Regions from separate parts of the Homo sapiens genome. Here region 1 is linked to region 2. The links are contacts of gene promoters, found by promoter capture Hi-C in blood cells and fetal thymus (Javierre and others, 2016). All regions are on one chromosome and are shown on one strand. Each heading gives the region's core, a stretch centred on a gene start or on the middle of the fragment in contact. The rest is flanking DNA. Distances are from core to core; before and after follow the strand shown.

What was found. The method cuts DNA at HindIII sites, captures the fragments that hold promoters and counts their contacts. A CHiCAGO score of 5 or more calls a contact.
Region 1: a contact is called between a fragment that was not itself captured here and the fragment with the promoter of NDUFAF3 in region 2, in 3 of 17 cell types (neutrophils, megakaryocytes and erythroblasts). The highest score is 6.5, in neutrophils.

What each region holds. Positions count from the first base shown.
Region 1 is chr3:49,469,756-49,472,637 of GRCh38, forward strand. DAG1 (dystroglycan 1) reads left to right here and starts at 512. Exons shown (of 3, transcript NM_004393.6): 1 at 512-678. RefSeq lists a silencer at 191-930. The HindIII fragment of the contact is 729 bases long and covers 1,170-1,898 here.
Region 2 is chr3:49,020,567-49,023,729 of GRCh38, forward strand. It overlaps NDUFAF3 (NADH:ubiquinone oxidoreductase complex assembly factor 3), which reads left to right and starts at 1,555. Exons shown (of 5, transcript NM_199069.2): 1 at 1,555-1,655; 2 at 1,780-1,972; 3 at 2,136-2,202; 4 at 2,310-2,410; 5 at 2,490-2,929. The coding sequence starts at 1,579. The coding sequence ends at 2,606. MIR191 (microRNA 191) reads right to left here and starts at 143; the gene lies at 52-143. It also overlaps a transcript of DALRD3 not described here. RefSeq lists an enhancer at 642-1,411 and silencers at 927-1,129, 1,166-1,355, 1,576-1,675, 1,716-1,835, 1,896-1,945. The HindIII fragment of the contact is 13,281 bases long and covers 1-3,163 here.

The sequences.
Region 1 (2,882 bases), core at 284-2,783, 450 kb after region 2:
TTCCTGATTGTTCTCATGGCTTAGAAATACCCCTTGATTTGCATTCGAAGGAAATAAGGAGGGCTGAACGCAGTCGACGGGTGGCCAGTTGCTGGGCCAGTTCGCAGTCCTGACTGTCCCTTGATTAGTCTTAGAGGCCCAAAGGCCTGAAGTTGGGCGGGGAGCCCCTCCCCCACACTACTGGTTCTGAAGGCTCCGAGTGACCGGGACCGACCGCCGGGGTGTGTCCCGGGACGGACTTCCCTGGCCGTGGGGGCGAGGCTTCCATAATGGGGCGTGACTTTTAGGGCGGGGGAGTGGCTAGCCAATGAGCAGAGAGGTGCTGGCCGGGGCGGGGCTTGCGCGCGGGTGCGGCGCGCTGCGGAGCGGCCGACGCAGGCAGAAGCCGGCGGCGCGCGGACAGCCAGTCGGCGCCGCGCGGAGCTGGCCGCTGGATTGGCTGCAACACTCGCGTGTCAGGCGGTTGCTAGGCTCCGGCCGCGCGCCCCGCCCTTGCGCTCAGCGCCCTCTCACCGCCCGGTACGTGCTCGCGCGAAGGCTGCGGCGCGGCGCTCGCGCCTCTTAGGCTTGGCGGTGGCGGCGGCGGCAGCTTCGCGCCGAATCCCCGGGGAGCGGCGGTGGCGGCGTCCTGGGGCCAGGAGGAGCGAACACCTGCCGCGGTCCTCCCGCCGGCGCTGGGTGAGTGCACCGCCCGCCCTATCCGCTGTGCCTGGCTGCTTGGGCCCCCATCCCTGCTGCCGGCTGAGCCTTCCGCGGAACACCTGCTGCTGCTCGCTGTTCGGCCCGGGGCGGGGACACGGCCGCGGACGTCCTTGTGGGTGAGGAGGCGGTGCCGCCCGGGCGGAGCCGCCCCTTTGCTCTGGGTCCCGCAGGCAAAGGCTCGGAGCGTTCGGCTGCAAGGCCCGGGCCGCGCGCCGCGGCGATGGGCCAGGCCTTAGCTCGGCCCGCGCTCCCGGGAACGTGGAGCCTGCGCCTTGGCCGCGGTCGTGAGCCGCCTGCGGGCCGCCTCCCTGGCTTCCAATAGGGGTTGTGGCCCAGTTGGGCCGGATTCCGACTGTGGGGAGTCGAGCCCCGCTAGAGGCAGGGAAGGGCACCGCTGCCGCCACTGCTCTGTCAGAGCTGCTCAGAGCCTTGGTGGGTTCCGTCATCCTTACTTGAGCTCCTTTGGAAGCTTGTTTACTTACTACCTTTTCACTTTGTATTTGGCAGACCTGGTTCACCTGCGAGTGTATTTGGATAGTGTCTCCACAGAAAATGTCGTCTCGGCTTGGAATCTTTTTGCCATAAATTCTAAGTTAGTTTCCTACAAACTCAACTGGTAACTTAAAATGCATCCTTTAATCTCTATAACTTGAAAAGTTCTTATTTTTGTAAATCGAGTTGCTTCAGAATTAGTTTTAATGGTGACGATGAAGTTTTGACTGGTTGAGGCAAGAGCCTGGGACAGCACCTTCATAGCGCAGAGTCTAACTTAAGATTCTAGCCTGCTGCTTCCCTAAATAAGCGAGTAGAAGTGACTCCTGGCATAGAAGCCAGACTCCGTGAAGGGAAGGTGGTGTTTATAGGACATAATTCCAGATAAAGAGCTGGATGTGCTTTCAGGTGTTTTGCAAAGTCTGGTGTAGATGGGGTATTGCAGTTTTATCAGGTTCTATGCTTAGTTAAGTTCAGAGACATTATTTTGGAATGTTCCTGTTCTAAAAAAGAATTCAACCGTACTACATTTTGGAGGCATAAAAATCCATAGTTTGAGTATGGAGAAGTTTAGTTGAACTTTTGTGGGTTTTTTTTGCTGTGAACTAAGGAAGAAGAGCTCATGGCCTGTGTCCTGTATTTTGGAGAAATCAGATTTCAGTAGGGAGTTGGATCCATCATGTGAAGACCCTATGGGATATAAAAGCTTGTGCTGACATGTGCTTTTGTTAAAAGAGGCACAGTGCAAATCCTCACTGTTCTTAAAAATTGATTTTGCAAAATGCATTTATTCATTTGAACAAATATTTTGATTCACTACCTGCCAAATTCTGTGGTAGATCCTAGGGACCCATGTAAAAGAGTCTGCTTCTGCCCTTAAGGAATTCAGTTTAGGGGGCAGTGGGGACCAGGGAACCCATGATTAATAGTGTCTGCCCGCTAAGCGTGCTCACATAGTAGCCTGAGGAGAGAGGGAATTCCTGAGCTGTGGTTTTCAGGGCCAGCAGGAATTAGTGGGGGACATCAAGGCCTGGACACAGGGAACCACATGTACATGAGCACCTAAAATAGTGCTTGGGAGTCCTCCAGCTTGGCAGGTGCGAGCTCTGGGCCTGCCTTGTGCTCAGGAGTTCCAACTTTGTATGCGGGGTGCAGGAGTCTGGGGAGCCTTTTAATCAGTAGAGTGGTGTGACCCAGACCTGTGTTTAGAAAGATATTGCTGGTGGAGTGGCAGGAAGAGGGAGGGGGTCAGGACCTCTGGCAGTTAAGTCAGCTAACAGAGGAGAGGTGGGGAGGGAGAAGGAGCCATCAGAAAAGAGAGACTGAAAAGGTAGTACAGAGGGGATGTCCTGCCATGATGGGGGAGGAGCTACATTCTGGAATGCATGGGCCAGAAGACCAAGCATAACCAAGGATTTAAATTCCTTGTTGACTACCTGGTATAGTGACCTACAGAGTTGCTTGTGTCTGGTTAGTGTTGAGGATGGTGGGATTTGGAGGGACCACTTAGGGACCACTTAGACTGCCGTCGATGCATAGGAAAGGAGGCCTGGCATTTGATTATTAAAAACTTTATCGCCGGGCATGGTGGCTCCCACCTGTAATCCCAGCAGTTTGGGAGGCCGAGGCGGGCGGATCACGAGGTCAGGAGATCGAGATCATCCTGGCTAACACGGTGAAACCCCCTC
Region 2 (3,163 bases), core at 305-2,804:
TAAAGTATGTCTGGGGGTCAGGGGCACCCCATCTGGGCCAGGGCGCTGCTCAGGCAGGAGAGCAGGGGACGAAATCCAAGCGCAGCTGGAATGCTCTGGAGACAACAGCTGCTTTTGGGATTCCGTTGCCCGCTGTCCAGCCGTTGGCGGGGGGCGGGGGAGCTCCTGCCCCCAGGTCACTCGCCCTGGGGCCACATCAGAACCCGCCCATCCCCAGTCCCAGGAGGAAGACCCGGGAGTAGGTTGTGAAACGGAGTCTAGAGGGAACAAGACGCTCACCTGGGCCACAGAACAATAGAAGGGGAGGTGGGGGCCTCCCCTGGGACCGGGTCCCGATCCGGATTAGATCCGTGGGGCAGGATTAGCCCTGTTGGTCCCACGAAGCCTGGGCCACTGGTGCGGTGACGGTGGTGGGGCGGGCTTCGGAATCCGTCAGGAGGGAAGCGCGCCCGTGGGGCCGGAGAGGAAGTAAACCCGCGCGTCCACCTCGGGGACACCCCCGCGCTCGGTGGCCTTTGTCCGGTGACGCTGCCAGCGCCCGGAGCACCAGGGGCCGAAGGGGTCCACAGAGCAGCCGCGGGACCCCCGGAAACCCATTGCGACCGGCCCCAGGAGACCCACCACCAGGCTCCCACTGTGCCGAGCTTCCCGCTCGCCCGGCCCCGCGGGTAGCGAAAGCGACAATGTTCCCCTGAGGCCACGACAGAGCCGGCGTGCCGAGATGCCCAAACCCCGCGCGGGGGCCAGCGACTCTCGCGCCAGTAGGCCCTTGACTTGGATCAAGACGGGGGACGGGGGACTCCCAGGACGCGAGCAGAGTGAACGAGGACAAGGTGATGCTCCACGCGCTTCTACTTCAAGTCTGGTCCGGTTCGGCCTGGTCTGGGCCAGCCGAACAGCCACCCAAACACTATCACAGCTTGCCCTTCCGCTTGCTCTGGCTGCCTGCAGACTTGGAGCCATTTTAAGGAGAAACCACCTGGCCACGCCCCCTAGAGAACCCGAGAAGCCAATCCACGCTCGGCCACGCCCCTCTCCGCGCGCTGCGGAGAGGCCAACGGTCGCGCGGGTGACGGTTAGGGCGGGGCGTGCTTCCGCGTCTAGCCGGAGAAACTTGAGCCGGCTGCCCCGCCCACGGTGCCCGAAGCCCCAAAGGCTGGAATTAGGGGCTAGAAGTCTGGCACCCACCGCCTGGCCAGGTGTTCGGGACGCGACCAGGTGGGCGGTCGCCCCGCCCCGGGAGCGCGGCTTAATAGCTGAGAGCCCGGGGGCCAGGCCGCGGCTGCGGCCCAGGCAACGCCCTGAGGGTGGCCACGCTGCCAGGTGTTCCACTCCCCCGGGACTATGGGCAAGGGCCCGGGGCGGGGAGGGCGGCAGGTGCTGACACTGGAGCTGCGCCGGAGGTCGGGGAACTCGGCCTCCTAAGACTGAGGACACTCGCCTGCTGGGCCGGTCGAGCTGTGCGGTGCCCTCCGGGACGCAGGGGGCGCTGCAGCCACGCTGGGTCAGGCTCCGCAGGGCCCTCCCAACCCGGGGACTAACGGCGCCGGTGACGACTTCGCCGCGCGTTGGTCAGCCATGGCCACCGCTCTCGCGCTACGTAGCTTGTACCGAGCGCGACCCTCGCTGCGCTGTCCGCCCGTTGAGCTTCCCTGGTGAGCTTGGACCCCGCGCCCTCGACCATCCAGCCCCCTAGGGCCGGCGACTGCCAGCCCAGCACCTTCCGGCCTCTCGGGCTGCCCGGCCCGGCCCCGCGCCCCTGACCCTTTCCCTCCGCAGGGCCCCGCGGCGAGGGCATCGGCTCTCGCCGGCGGATGACGAGCTGTATCAGCGGACGCGCATCTCTCTGCTGCAACGCGAGGCCGCTCAGGCAATGTACATCGACAGCTACAACAGCCGCGGCTTCATGATAAACGGAAACCGCGTGCTCGGCCCCTGCGCTCTGCTCCCGCACTCGGTGGTGCAGTGGAACGTGAGTCCTGGCCCGCAGTGTGGAAACTGAGGCCCAGAGTCACAGGCCCTCACCCTGCTTGGTCCCTGCAAACTTGGCTTTCCTCTGTCTCCTCCTGCAGTGGATGGAGATGGGGAGAGGCTGCGTGGATTTGTCGTATTAAATGTGCCTCCTCCCTGCACAGGTGGGATCCCACCAGGACATCACCGAAGACAGCTTTTCCCTCTTCTGGTTGCTGGAGCCCCGGATAGGTACTGGGGAAGGGGAGGGAGAACAGAGGTGTTCTGGGCCCCAGAAGGCGACCCCCACTGCAGCCTCTCAACAGAACTGTAGACTAGCCACACCCACCCTTCCCTAGAGATCGTGGTGGTGGGGACTGGAGACCGGACCGAGAGGCTGCAGTCCCAGGTGCTTCAAGCCATGAGGCAGCGGGGCATTGCTGTGGAAGTGCAGGACACGGTGAGTCCCGGGACTGGGGCATGCTGCGGGGAGCACAGGCCTGGCGCTAGACAGGCTGATGCTGGCCTTTTCTTTGCAGCCCAATGCCTGTGCCACCTTCAACTTCCTGTGTCATGAAGGCCGAGTAACTGGAGCTGCTCTCATCCCTCCACCAGGAGGGACTTCACTTACATCTTTGGGCCAAGCTGCTCAATGAACCGCCAGGAACTGACCTGCTGACTGCACTCTGCCAGGCTTCCCAATGCTTTCACTCTTATCTACCCTTTGGCACTTATCTTGCTTATCAACATAATAATTTATACACTTCTCCCATTTTGTATCAGGTGTGTTGCTGGCCAGGAGCTGATGGCTCACTGGGCTCTTGGAGGGGAATGTGAAGAAACCAAGGAGTCACTTTTTCATCTAGATTACTTAGGATTCCTTGACTTTTCAGAAGTCGGGAAGCAGTATGTTTGCCTGTTGTAGACCTACTTGCTCACATGCAGATTTGAGAGGACCTCAACGGCTTTTCTCACAAAATCGCTGATTGTTTTTCTTTTTTTGAGATGGAGTCTCGCTGTCGCCCGGGCTGCAGTGCAGTGGCGTGATCTTGGCCCACTACAACCTCCACCTCCTGGATTCAAGCGATTCTCGTGCCTCAGCCTCCTGAGTAGCTGGAATTAGAGGCCCCTACCACTACACTGGGCTTTTTTTTTTTTTTTTTTTTCTGGAGATGAGTCTTGCTCTTTCGCCAGGGTGGAGTGCAGTGGCGCA